Regions from separate parts of the Homo sapiens genome. Here regions 1, 3, 4 and 5 are each linked to region 2. Evidence: promoter capture Hi-C in 16 types of primary human blood cells and fetal thymus (Javierre and others, 2016). All regions are on one chromosome and are shown on one strand. The core of a region is centred on a gene start or on the middle of the fragment in contact, and the rest is flanking DNA. Distances in the headings are between cores, read along the strand shown.

What was found. The method cuts DNA at HindIII sites, captures the fragments that hold promoters and counts their contacts. A CHiCAGO score of 5 or more calls a contact.
Region 1: a contact is called between a fragment that was not itself captured here and the fragment with the promoter of WDR43 in region 2, in 2 of 17 cell types (naive CD4 T cells and activated CD4 T cells). The highest score is 5.4, in naive CD4 T cells.
Region 3: a contact is called between a fragment that was not itself captured here and the fragment with the promoter of WDR43 in region 2, in 1 of 17 cell types (total CD8 T cells). The highest score is 5.5, in total CD8 T cells.
Region 4: a fragment that was not itself captured here is called in contact with the fragment with the promoter of WDR43 in region 2 in 1 of 17 cell types (naive CD8 T cells); the score reaches 5.3 in naive CD8 T cells.
Region 5: a fragment that was not itself captured here is called in contact with the fragment with the promoter of WDR43 in region 2 in 1 of 17 cell types (total CD8 T cells); the score reaches 5.1 in total CD8 T cells.

Annotation. Positions count from the first base shown.
Region 1 is chr2:28,582,385-28,585,084 of GRCh38, forward strand. It overlaps PLB1 (phospholipase B1), which reads left to right. Exons shown (of 58, transcript NM_153021.5): 25 at 21-121. Among named protein-coding and RNA genes, the nearest start is that of PLB1, 88 kb to the left of the region's middle. RefSeq lists an enhancer at 2,081-2,140. The HindIII fragment of the contact is 5,337 bases long and covers 1-2,700 here.
Region 2 is chr2:28,893,301-28,896,000 of GRCh38, forward strand. WDR43 (WD repeat domain 43) reads left to right here and starts at 1,367. Exons shown (of 18, transcript NM_015131.3): 1 at 1,367-1,623. The coding sequence starts at 1,399. RefSeq lists silencers at 1,351-1,430, 1,571-1,630, 1,671-1,720, 1,741-1,860 and enhancers at 1,511-2,134, 1,961-2,060, 2,135-2,700. The HindIII fragment of the contact is 5,798 bases long and covers 1-2,700 here.
Region 3 is chr2:28,558,841-28,561,540 of GRCh38, forward strand. All of the region lies in intron 17 of PLB1 (phospholipase B1), which reads left to right. Among named protein-coding and RNA genes, the nearest start is that of PLB1, 64 kb to the left of the region's middle. The HindIII fragment of the contact is 780 bases long and covers 898-1,677 here.
Region 4 is chr2:29,198,821-29,201,520 of GRCh38, forward strand. All of the region lies in intron 26 of ALK (ALK receptor tyrosine kinase), which reads right to left. Among named protein-coding and RNA genes, the nearest start is that of CLIP4, 85 kb to the left of the region's middle. The HindIII fragment of the contact is 956 bases long and covers 907-1,862 here.
Region 5 is chr2:29,180,705-29,183,404 of GRCh38, forward strand. It overlaps CLIP4 (CAP-Gly domain containing linker protein family member 4), which reads left to right. Exons shown (of 16, transcript NM_024692.6): 16 at 868-2,700. The coding sequence ends at 1,189. Among named protein-coding and RNA genes, the nearest start is that of CLIP4, 67 kb to the left of the region's middle. The HindIII fragment of the contact is 223 bases long and covers 1,189-1,411 here.

The DNA.
Region 1 (2,700 bases), core at 185-2,684, 310 kb before region 2:
CTGAGTTTGCCTTTTCTCAGGTTCCTCGGGCATTTGTGAACCTGGTGACGGTGCTTGAGATCGTCAACCTGAGGGAGCTGTACCAGGAGAAAAAAGTCTACTGCCCAAGGATGATCCTCAGGTCAGACAGATACTTCTCCCCGATTCTACTAAGAATCCTCACTGCTAAGGGCAGTGGCACCCTTAGCAAATTCCTTAGAAAACCCAAGGGCCGAAGTGTGAAAGGGCTGTGACCACCCCATCTTCTAACCTGGAAAAGCCTAAGGGGAGGATATCCTAGGATTTTTCCACCCTGGTGTAGGCCTCAGCCCACCTCAGGGTGTGCATGGGGAACTACCCCTGCACCCCGCCTCTGTTGCCATGGCAGCCACAAGGCACCCTCCAGGCCTCCAGAGGGAAGAGTAAAACGCTAGGAATGGAGTCAAGCTGTGTGTCTGAGGCCCGGGGACCGCCCAGGCCACTGCTGGGACCTACTTCCAAGTGTGTCCAGAGCTGATCTGCCCCCTCCTAGAGGCCCATCTCTAGGACAGGGGTGCCTCTGGTTGGTATGGGTGTTCCATGTAAAGCATTCACAGATATAGGGCCACTGTCACCTGCCAGAGAAGGAGGTCAAACCAGAATTAGCAGGGTCCAGAGGACAGAGTCCTCCCCAGAGAGTAGAGAACCCTGGTCCTGAGAAGGTGCCTGAGAGGACGTCTTCACCCCTCAGCCTCCAGAGCCAGACAGAGCTGGCTTCCCCTTCTAATACAGGCTGAGCATCCCTCATCCGAAAATCTGAAATCTGAAATGCTCCAAAATCCAAAACTTTTTTTTTTTTTTGAGACAGGGTCTCGCTCTGTTGCCTAGGCTGGAGTGCAGTGGCATGATCTTGGCTCACTGCAGTCTCCGCCTCCCAGGTTCAAGCAATTCTCCCACCTCAGCCTCCTTAGTAGCTGGGATTACAGGCACACCACCATGCCCAGCTAATTTTTGTATTTTTAGTAGAGACGGAGTTTTATCATGTTGGCCAAGCTGGTCCCGAACTGCTGACCTCAGGTGATCCACCCTCCTCGGCCTCCCAAAGTGCTGGGATTACAGGCGTGAAGCCACCATGCCTGGCCCCGAATCCAAAACTTTTAAAGTGCTGACATGACACCACAAGGGGAAAATTCCACACCTGACTTCATGTGACAGGTTGTAGTGAAAACACAGGTGCACAGCACGCAGTTTATTCAGCATCCCCAAAAAGCCTCCTTCAGCTGCGATGCACTCTCTTTTCTGGGCATGCCCAGATCCTGCGGCTCAAGCATGCCCACAAAGGGTAGCAAAATGGCACATGTGCAGGCCGGATGCTCCAACAACAGGTTCCCCATAATGGCTCATGTGGGGCTAAGACCTGCGTGCATTACTCACCTAGTTTTTGCTCATTCTCTGTGTGGTAAAGATGTGGCTTAAAACGATAGCCATAGGGTAATGCAAATATTCCAAAAAAAAAAAAATCTGAAATCTGAAATGCTTCTGGCTCAAAGCATTTCAGATAAGGGAGACCCAGCCTGTATCACACATCTCCAGGACCGTCAGGAATAAGACGTTCCTCTAAGTGAAGCATGAACGTTTTCCGCAGCCTTCCTTCCTGCAGGTTTTCCTCTGGACTGTTAGCCAAGGTCACTGAGACTGTGCTCCCCTACCCTGCCCCCCAGCTCTGTTACTCGGTACAGGTCCCCACCCCAGCCCTGAGCACATCACATGGTAATTACTCATGTGCCTCCCTCCCCCACAGCCTGTGAACTCAGCCTGAGTCACTGCTAGCATGGTGTAGGGGCTCAGCTGCTGTTTGCTGAATGACTGAATAATTCACAAGGGCCAGACTTGCTCTTGGAAGTTAAGGGGTACCTTTCCTGCTCCTCTGCAGATCCATGCCATGCCTCACCTGGGGGACCCAAACCGCACAGGTCCCCTGGAGAAGGCCTCACGGTGCTGTGAGCAGAGACAGGATGGTTGCTTGGGTGACATGTTCCTATGAACGCAGCTGGTGTCAGGCATGCTATTTCCAACTGCTGACTCATCCGCTGGCTCACACTTTCTCCAGTCACTGGGCCACACAGGGGATCGGTGTCTTCACTCCATTTCAGAGCAGTTTACCAGAAAGCCTCTTGCTACCCATCTTGGCAGGGTTTTTTAGACCATTCAAACTCAAGGTTCAAAATAGGCATTTGCCAGGCCCATTCACAGATCTGAGATGGCCAAGTCACTGAATGTCAAGGTTGGATAGACTCAGGTCACCTTCTCCTGCCACCTCTGCAGTGCCCTGCACTCCCCGCCTCTCCACTGTTTCATCGGGTGGCTGTGCTTTCCTCTGCAGTGCTGAGTCTACACGGAGCCATCCCTGCTGTTATCACCTCATCCCCCTGGACCAAAAGCCCAGATGTGCCAGATAGCTGGCCGGGTCAGAGCTGCAGATTGGATGGAAGCAGTTTAACATAGAGATTAAGAGCTCAGGTTCAGAGCCAGGCAGACTTGAGTTCAAGTCCTAGCTCCCACACTCAGCACCCATGCAACCTTGAGAAAGTTACTCAACCACCCTGAGCCTGGGTTTCCTCATCTCTAAAACAGGGATAATGAGAATACCACTTCTAGAATGGCTGGGAGGACTAAACAGGTTAATACCCATAAAGTTTTTATTGCAGTGCTTGGTACAGTGTTCAATGTTAATTATTCAAT
Region 2 (2,700 bases), core at 117-2,616:
AGTTGTTCCGATCATTACTTTTACATTATTATAACTGAATACATTGTTATTTTGTAAATGATTACAGCCTGGAATTGAATAGGGGGAAACGGAAGCAGTTGTTACAATCATTATCAATTTGAAAGTGAAGACTTCTTTTCTCTCTCTTTTTTTTTGAGACAGTCTCGCTCTGTCACCTAGACTGGAGTGCAGTGGCGTGGCGATTTCGGCTCACTGCAACCTCCACCTCCCGGGTTCAAGGAGTCTCCTGCCTCAGTCTCCCGAGTAGCTGGGACTACAGGCACACACCACCACACCCGGCTAATTTTAGTATTTTTAGTAGAGACAAGGTTTCGCCATTTTGCCTAGCTTGGTCTCGAACTCTGACCTCGGGCGATCTGCCCGCCTCGGCCTCCCAAAGTGGGATTATAGGTGTAAGCCACCGCGCTCGGCTGAAGATTTCCTTCAAACCTTTCGTTCTACCTTATCATTTTCTTTAAAGTTTTAAAAAATTGTTATTTATTTATTATTTATTTTTTTAAGACGGAGTTTCACTCTTGTTGCCCGGAGTATAATGGCGCGATCTCGGCTCACAGCAACCTCCATCTCCCGAGTTCAAGCGATTCTCCTGCCTCAGCCTCTCGAGTAGCTGGGATTACAGGCGTGCGCCACACGCCTGGCTATTTTTTTTTTTTTTTTTTTTTTTTTTTTTTTTTTGAGACGAGTCTCGCTCTGTCGCCCAGGCTGGAGTGCAGGGGCGCGATCTCGGCTCACTGCAATCTCCGCCTCCCGGGTTCAACCAATTCTCTGCCTCAGCCTCCCGAGTGGCTGGGATTACATACAGGTGCCAACCACCAAGCCCGGCTAATTTTTTTGTATTTTTAGTAGAGACGAGGTTTCATCATCTTGGCCAGGCTGGTCTTGAACTCCTGACCTTATGATCCACCCGCCTCGGCCTCCCAAAGTGCTAGGATTACAGGCGTGAGCCACCGCGCCCAGCCCACGGCTAATTTTTTTATTTTTAGTAGAGACGGGGGTTTCTACATGTTGGTCAGGCTGGTCTCGAACTCCGACCTCAGGGGATCCGCCCACTTCGGCCTCCCAAAGTGCTGTGATTACAGGCGTGAGCCACCGCGCCCGGCCCCCCCCCTTTTTTTTTTTTTTTAAAGGAACAGGACTTGATCTTAATTCTACAATTACTTTCTCCCATACTCCCACTCCCGCCCAGAACAAGATAGCGACAGGCCCTAGCGGGCCACCGTCCACAGGGCGGATCCGCCAGAAGCTCTCCTGCGACGCGAAGATCCACTCCCTGAGCCCCCGGCGCTCCCTCCGCCTCACTTCCTCCTCCAGGCTCCGCCCCGCGCCGGTGCGCCTGCGCACGGACGAACACGTGGCTGCAGCGGGGCCAGAGCAGCAATGGCGGCGGGCGGCGGCGGTAGCTGCGACCCCCTGGCCCCTGCTGGGGTCCCTTGCGCCTTCTCCCCGCACAGCCAGGCCTACTTCGCTTTGGCCTCTACCGACGGTCACTTACGAGTATGGGAGACGGCCAACAACCGGCTGCACCAGGAGTACGTGCCTTCCGCGCACCTCAGTGGTACCTGCACCTGTCTGGCCTGGGCGCCAGCGCGGCTGCAGGCCAAGGTAAAGCGAGCGGGACTGCGCGGGGCGGGCGCCTTCCCGGGCTCGGCTTCGGGCCTCCGGGCCGGGTGGCGCGTGGTCCGGCATCGCGCGTGGCTCTCAGCGGCCCGGGCCAGAAGGCTTGGAGGCGGCGTCGGCGCGTTCAGGGCCCAAGCCGCCAGCCCCGCGTGCGGCCTGCCGCGAGGGCAGTGAGGGAGGGCGCAGCTCGACCCGGCCGGCCTCGTATCCGAGCCCTGCCGGCTGGCCCAATGAGGCCTGGGCCCCACTGTTGACGGGCAGCCATGTTCGCCAAGTCCCCTGGTCCCCCTGGGGCGGCTTCCTTCTGCCGGGCCTTGGCTCATCAGAGTTCTGGTTTTTGACAGAGCCCCATCTTGGGACTATCTAACTTTCCTCTGTCTGTGATCCGGCTCATCAGTTTTGCACTGGGCAGTTGGTATGGACTAGTCTGTACTTGCTTCCGGACCTTCCCCCTCCTGCCCCCCCTTTGGGTGCCGGCTCACCACGTGTTCTCGTCCCCGTCCAGGTTGTGGGACTCTCAACTCTTAACTTTTGCCTTTCCCAGGCACCTCTACATTCTCAGCTTTTTGAACTCACTGCTTTTTGATTTTAACATCTGCTCGCCCCTCCCGCCCCGCTTTCAAGCCGATCACACTGCTCCCCACCCACCCCAATCTGAAGTCTGTATTAGGATGTGGAGGTTAAGTGAAGTAGTAGCTTGATTTAGTGAATGTTTTATGAGTGCAGATGAAATTACCCTTAGATGGAAAACTGCCGAGTTAGGCAGAGCTTTTCATTGTTAGGGACCCGTGTCAGGTAAATGCCTTTCACTGTTGAGTCACTCAGCTACATCTCTCTAACTCAGCATGCACGTGGTTATTGCGTTTACAGAGTAGCCAAACCGAATCACTGCAAAGTGATTTGGAAACATCAGGTATCCTGAGGTGTGTGATGTGAGCTGTTTCAATGTGGAGAACTGTAAAAGCTATTTAGGATCTTACTCTCTCTGACGACCTGGGAAGCCTGCTAAATTTTTGGGTTGGGAAAAGGGATACATATAAGTTGCTATACTTTGGGCATGTT
Region 3 (2,700 bases), core at 38-2,537, 330 kb before region 2:
GTGAGGGCCACAAGACAATTTATACATACACACAGGAGAAACAACTCTAGTCTTTTTTTTCTTTTTTATTGAAGGAGTCTCACTATATTGCCCAGGCTGGTCTCGAACTTCTGGGCTCAAGTGATCCTCCCAACTTGGCCTCCCTAAGTGCTGGGATTATAGGCATGAGCCATCACACGCAGCCAAATATTTATTTAATTTTTTACAGACAGTCTCACTTTGTTGCCCAGGCTGGAGTGCAGTGGTGCAATCATAGCTCACTGCAGCCTCTGCCTCCTGGGCTTGATTCCAGGTTTTTCAGGTCCAAGCGCAGTACTTGACTGCAGTCAATGGCTTTGATAATCGAGTGTCTCTATCAGTGGTTCTGAAAATGTGGTACCCAGACTGGACTGGCAGCATCAGCATTACCTGGAAACTTGTTGGAAATGCAAATCCTTGGGCCCACCCCAGACCTATTGAGTCAAAAATTCTGAAGGTGGGGCCCAGCCATCTGTGTTTTCACAGGCTCTCCAGGTGATTCCGATGCAGGCTCAATTGGAGGACCGCTGCTCTATATGTTTTGCACACATATATTTACAACTATGTATGTGTGAGTTTGTATCCTTTCATAGGAAGAGGCAAGAACTTTTACTTTTCCAATGAGAGCAAATCCTCATTGGGAGTGGCTCTCCCCATTGCAGACAGCATGAAAGAAGGTAGACAAGATGTCTCCATGAAAGGAGACGAGACCTTGGAGACCTGGAAGTCCCTTGAGTATGTTTTCCACTCAATGTTAATCCGGCTTCCTGCACAGGTACAATTCCACAGCCATGATTTGGATGTTGATGGGTGCTGTGGGTTGTATATAGTCCAGCTGTGTCAAAATCATCTCACCCTGTGTTTCACTGCAGGCCTGAAAGCTTTTTTTTTTTTTTTTTTTTTTTTTTTTTGAGACGGAGTCTCGCTCTATCTCCCAGGCTGGATTGCAGTGGCGCAATCTCGGCTCACTGCAGCCTCCTCCTCCCAGGTTCAAGCAATTCTCATGCCTCAGCCTCCCAAATAGCTGGGACTATAAGAGCACACCTCCATGCCTGGCTAATTTTTGTATTTTTAGTAGAGACGGGGTTTCATCATTTTGGACAGGCTGGTCTGAAACTCCTGACCTCAGGTGATCTGCCCGTGTCGGCCTCCCAAAGTGCTGGGATTGTAATCTGGTCACGCTACAGGCTTTATAAACTGTCTTTGGCAAAGAAGGCTGTTGAGAAAGCCTCCTGCAGACAACTTTCAGTTTATCCTTCTTAAGCACTTAACCACTGAAATGTACCAGGGTGGGCCACTCCTTGGTACAAACTCTGTACTAGGCTTCTTCCAAACCACAAGAGCTATTTCAATAATTTAGTGCAGCGTTGTGCCACTAGACACAATAGAAGCACATCGGCAAAGGTAGAGCTATGGCCAAGTCAGGGTGACCTTGGGGGTGAGGTAATTGGGGGAGTGGGAGGTGAGCTTGTGACTTGAGAGACCAAGCTATATATGGCTTAAGAAATTCTAGGGGTGGTCCCCCAAATACACTAGGATTCACTTTCTTATGTGTATAAGGTAAAGGGGTAGGTAGATGTAGTACCTGTGTGTGTATGTGAGTAATTACATATATAGCAATATCTATGTTAAACTCCTAACTTGTTAGCCAGGCATAAAAGCTTATAATCCCAGCTACTCAGGAGGCTGAGGTGGGAGGATCGCTTGAGCCCAGGAGGCCGAGGCTGCAGTGAGCCATGATCACACGCCACAGCCTAGGTGACAGAGTGAGACCTTGTCTCGAAAAATAAAAATAAAACGAATATATTGATAGATGCTACAACATAATTGAACCTTGAAAACATTATGCAAAGTAGAAGAAGCCAGACACAAAGAGTCACGTATTATATTATTCTATTTACATGAAATATCCAGAATAGATAAATCTATAGAGGCAGAAAGCAGATTACTGGTTACCAGATATTGGTTAGGCCCTGTGGCCCTAACCTACCTTTCCAAGGTGGTTTTCTCTTTGCTCTCTCATATATGCTTCATGCAAGCCAAACTGTGACTAGCTGGGCTTTCGAGACATCCAAGCTCGACCCTACCACATCCATCCATCACGCTTTTCCCTCCATCACCCGATCTCGCTCTCCCTCATCCTCCTGTTATTCCTGAGGCTTAATTCAAATGCGACCTTCTCCATGAAGCCTGCTGTGACCCCCTCCTCAGGCCCCCCAGGGGAAGATCATCCCTCCAGCTCTATAGCTTCACATCACTTCACACCTCTTTTAGTGTTTATCGGTCTTACACTATAATAACTATGGCTATTTCTCATTTTCTCCTTAGCTTGTGAGCTTTTTGAGGGCATTCTCTGTTTCTGATCACTGTGTGGTCTCCAAAGCACCCAGCCACTGCTTCGTGTTCAACATGTTTGTCCTGTGAGTTAATAGCTGCCACATCACACGGAATGCTCAAACTCAAAAGATAAAAATATGTATAGTCAAGCTGTGGAAAACAGCTTGATGCTTCCTCAAAAAGATAAGCATAGGATTACCATATAATCCACCAATTCCACTCTCAGGTGTATACCAAAATAATTGAAAACAGGCATTCAAACAAACACTCGTACACAGATATTTATAGCAATACTAGTCACAATAGCCCAAAAGTGGAAATAACCCAAATGCCTATCGATGCATG
Region 4 (2,700 bases), core at 135-2,634, 310 kb after region 2:
TTCCTATGAATTGCCCATTTTTATCTGCTGGGACAAATTGGTATCTATCAATCAATTTTCTTTTTGATTTGTAGGCACTCTTTATATGTCAGAGATGTTAACCTTTTATAAAAAATTCAAATACTTTTATTAGTTGTTTTCTTTTTTTTTTTTTATGTAGTCTCACTCTGTTACTCAGGCTGGAGTGCAGTGGTGCCATCTTGGCTCACTGCAACCTCCACCTTCCAGGTTCAAGTGATTCGCCTGCCTCAGCCTCCCAAGTAGCTGGGATTACAGGCGCCCACCACAACACCTGGCTAATTTTTGTATTTTTAGTAGAGACAGGGTTTCGTCATGTTGGCCAGGCTGGTCTTGAACTCCTGATCTCAGGTGATCCACCCACCTCGGCCTCCCAAAGTGCTGGGATTACAGATGTGAAACACCGCACCTGGCCTTAGTTGCTTTCTAATGCTACTTTTTAGCATACCAAAGAAAGATTTTTATTTTTAGATAGTCAAACCTATTTTTTTAATGTCATGATTTCCTTTATTTTATAGTTATACAATCTTCCCTTCACCAAAGATTAGATAAATATTTGCTATCTTCTTCTAGTTGTGTTTGTTTTTGCTCTCTTCTTAAATCTAGTTGGAATTTAATTTGGTGTCTAGTGTGAGGTAAGGACCTAAATTGATTTGCTTTTCAAATAACTACTCTTCCAACACTATGCATAAGATAATTTCCTCCTTACCCATTGACTCACGATTAAAAACAGGTCTGTTTCTGGCTATATTTTCACTTCATCTATTTGTCTGCTTCTTGCATTGATACCATTCTATTTTACTTTCTGTGTATTTGTCTTAAATCTGAAAAGGCATTTTTCTCTATTTCTCTTTAAAAAATATTTGATTTCTCATTTGTTTTTTTAAAAGCTTTATGAGATGAATTCTTCGTGTTCTAAAAGAATCACCTTTGATATTTTGATTAAAACTTTAAACCACTACCTAATGATCAGCTTTTTGACAAAGACTATCTTTTAGTGTGATTGTAGTTTTCTGAGGTTAGCAAATATTACCACAAAAATTGTAGAGAACAATAGTTCCTTCATCTTCTAAGAAACATGGGGTGCTTTTATTGTCATCATCTGTGTGAAATTTCAAAGACTCTTGTGAGAAGGATTGGGCAAAGATATTTTCCCTATTTTTCAGGTGAGAAGGTTGAAGCACAGGTTATTATACAACTAATCCGAGACAGACTGGAATACATTATTAGATCTCTTGATTTTGCTACTTACAAATTGCCTGGCACATATATTATTCCTTTCTGTTTGGAGATCTCTTGATTTTGCTACTTACAAATTGCCTGGCACATATATTATTCCTTTCTGTTTGGTGATCTTACTTCCCTTCAAGGCAAAACTAACTAGGCAAAATCAAATGAACAAGAAACTGGCAGTAAGGCCTAAAGAATTATAGCTATATGTTTTCTGTTTTTCTAGATAGATATAGGTTATAGCATCCTTTGAGAGCACTAATAGAACTGCACATGAATATTTATTTTCTTAGTTTAGAGTTCAAGGGAGCAAGAAGTAGTATTGGTCATAGAACTTTGACAATTTTGAATAAGTAGGATTTTCATATTTGCAAACAATACCAGATACCTAGTTAAATTTGAGTTCCAGATAAGCAACACATAGTTTTTTTAGTATATGTATGCTCCAATATTTATACTAAAAAACTATTTGCTGTGCATCTGAAATTCAATTTCACTGACCATTTTGTATTTTATCTAGAAACCCTACAGATGAGGCAAATCTATATTTTGTATGCCAGATGGTTCTTTCATCACCTATAAGCCTGCCCTAAACAGGAGCGACAAAAGCCCAAAGCTTTGCACCAGAGCATTTAAAATCAAATATACATACGTATATATGTATATATATACGTATATATATACGTATATATGTATATATATACGTATATATATGTATATACATGTATACATATATATGTGTGTATATACATATATACGTATATATATGTGTGTGTATATAGATACGTATATATATGTGTATATATATATTTTTAAACTTCACTTTCTTTTGGTATTAAACTTGCTCTGCCTGGAATGATTGATAGAAATAATAGCAAACATTATTGCTGATTAAACTGTTAAACATTTGAATCGATGAAGATAATCTGATAAAAGATTTTAAAATATCAAGCTGTTCTGTATCAGCCTTTAAAAGCTACATTTTTCTCCTTAATCATAACCTGAAAGGAGGTTATGATTAAAGAAAAAAAAAAACATTGTGGAAGATGGTCTCCAGGTGTGATAGAGGTTATGCTCTTAGGAAAAATGGGAGCCAAAAATTAATATCTTTAAATGTCCATCCAGTGGATTCCAAGATCTCATACACCAAGATCTCATACAGTTCTCTGATCTTTAGTTTCATCTATCAGATGCCCACTCATTAGCTTCACTGGCCTATTTTAATAGGCAACTCAAATTTAACATGCCCAAACGGAACTCCTTCTGAACCCACACCATCTCCTCTTTCATTCTTTCCCAACTCAGCAGCACCTCTGGTTATGCATTTGTTCAAGCCCAAAACCCAGGAGTCATCCTTGACTCCGTTATCCCACACCCCTCCACTTCCCATCCAACAGTCAGCAGTCCTGTTAACTCTACATTCAAGATAGATCTTGAGGCCGGGCGCTGTGG
Region 5 (2,700 bases), core at 50-2,549, 290 kb after region 2:
ATTTGATAATATTGATAGCAATTAAAACAGCCAAAATACTAGATTCTTTTTGCGTTATTTGATAATACTGGTAGAAATTAATTAGGTATAAGTGTATTTTTTCTAATTGCTATTTTACTGAAAGCATATATATGTATGTGTGTGTGTGTGTGTGTGTACACATGTATATATATATATATGGCAAATGAAATCTTAAATCCAGAATGGGGTAGTCTTAAAATAGCGCAAAAGACAAAAACTTTTAAAATGTTAAACAGAAGTACAGTTGAACTTTGAGTAATGAGTGCAGGGGTTAGGAGTGCCATCCCCTGCTTGCCTGCAACAGTTGAAAATCAGTGTGTAACTTTGGACTCCCCCAAAACTTAACTACTGATAGCCTATTGTTGACTGGAAGCCTTACCTATAACATAAACAGCTGATTAATACATATTTTGTATGTTACATATAGTATGTACTGTATTTTTACTATAAAGAGAAAAAAATGTTAAAGTCATAGGGAAAATATATTTACTATTCCTGAAATAGAAGCGGATCATCATAAAGATCTTCTTCTTCATTGTCCTCACTTTGTGCAGGCTGAGGAGAAGGAGGAAGAGAAGGGGTTGGTCTTGTTGTCCCAGGTGGCGGAGGTGGAAGAAACTTCTGTGTATGCGTGGACCCACGTACTTCAAACCTGTGTAGTTCATGGGTCAACTGTATACTCTAAAACTGCTATTTAAAATTTAAAAATCAAGTTGTGACCATAAAGTATTCTCTTTTGGGAACTGAGTGAATGAATTCTGAATCTGGCAGTGGAAATGAATATGATGCATTGCATTACGTGGCTTCAGCACTAAATAATTTTTCCCACTTTTCCCTTCCGCACAGATCGAAAGCTGCTTTGCGTCGCAGTTGGAGCAGCACCCCCACCGCAGGTGGCATTGAAGGGAGCGTGAAGCTGCACGAGGGGTCTCAGGTCCTGCTCACGAGCTCCAATGAGATGGGTACTGTTAGGTATGTGGGCCCCACTGACTTTGCTTCAGGTATCTGGCTTGGACTTGAGCTCCGAAGCGCCAAGGGAAAAAATGATGGGTCAGTGGGTGACAAGCGCTATTTCACCTGTAAGCCGAACCATGGAGTCTTAGTTCGACCGAGCAGAGTGACCTATCGGGGAATTAATGGGTCAAAACTTGTGGATGAGAATTGTTAAGCTTCTAAAATATTAAATAAGCTCAAATATATATATTTGGTGTAAATAAAGAGTCCATGGTAAATGGTTTACTTTATTTAGCCATATTAAAATTTTGAAAATATAGTTATCTTCTTAAAAACCATTATAACAATTCAGAGAGAGTTCTTTACAAAGCCATGAATATGAACTATGGGGAATCATGGTTCTTTTAAAGCAATTTTCAAAATAAGTACCAATTAAAGCTTTAGGTTCCAAGAAGATTCTGGGACTCAGGAAGAAAAAGTGCCATCAGGTGACCAGCTGTTGCATTTCTTGCTTATTCTGTTTTGTTTTTGCACATCATAATGGATTTTTCTTAGTGCCCTAATTGTGAAGGGTTTCTCTAGCTTTGGTTATGTGTAATGTTCACGTGACCTTTTTTTGTCAATCATTTTTGGAATTTTTCTTTCTTTCTGTGCTTTATTACTAATAAGTCCAATGAGTGAGTAGTAGCTAGATGACTAGTATGTAGTTTTATATTTTGGTAAAATTATTTGCCCTTTCAGAAATGCCTCATCTAAAGATACATGATAATTTTGGAGTTGGAAGGGGCCTTAGAGGCTCTCCAGCTCTGCTTCTTGCCCATTGCCAAATACTGAAATGGAAGCCCGTCTTACCTGGGGTCACTAACTGGTTGGTTAACTGAGCTAAGAATAGACTGTGGGTCTCCTCACTTGTGGCCCAGTGCTCTTTCTGCTATACAAAATGTCTAATCTCAGATTTTTCTTCTGCTGCTTGACTGCTTCATCTGGATGAACTACAAAAAACCCATGATTAAGGTTTATGAATTCAAGTAATAATTAGATTTTTTTTGCACAGACTTACTTAACTTCCTTATTGGATATGTTTGTAACACATAAACACAAAGCACTTTTCAAACATGATGCACTTTTATCTTTGTGAATAATTTACTGTCCTTTCCTCCTGGGATATGAGAAACATTTTAAAAAACGTATTTAACAGAAGAGAGCAAATAAAGATATATCAGGAAGGATGTATTAGTTATTTACTTAAATGTTTATAATATCTGGATTTTTTTTGTTTTGTTACTCATAGAACTGGTGTTGTTTGCTGTTTTTATTTCTCTAATTGTTGCAGAGTTCTGCCTGTTACAAAGCTACAGAACTGTATTGTTTTTATTTTCCTTCTTGAGCACATGTTAACAAACTAAGCTTCACATTAGAGTGATGTCATAATGTAAAATGTTTGCATTGTGGTTAGGTATTGAAGTTTATGTCCTGTCTGTGTAAAGATTCATCTTTTATTGTAAATATTTAGACTTTACCACAGAAATATTGGAACAGTTTGCTTTATAAGATTAAAAAGCATCCTTCAGAATGGAGCTTGCCTTGTGCTTAGAAATAATATGTTGAACTATTTTGCAATATACTATTTTAAATCTAAATTCTGTCACTTCGCTGCCTTTTTAAAATAGTGTGGTATTTCAAATATTGCTAGAGCTATTTTCCTGAAATACATTTGCAAAATAA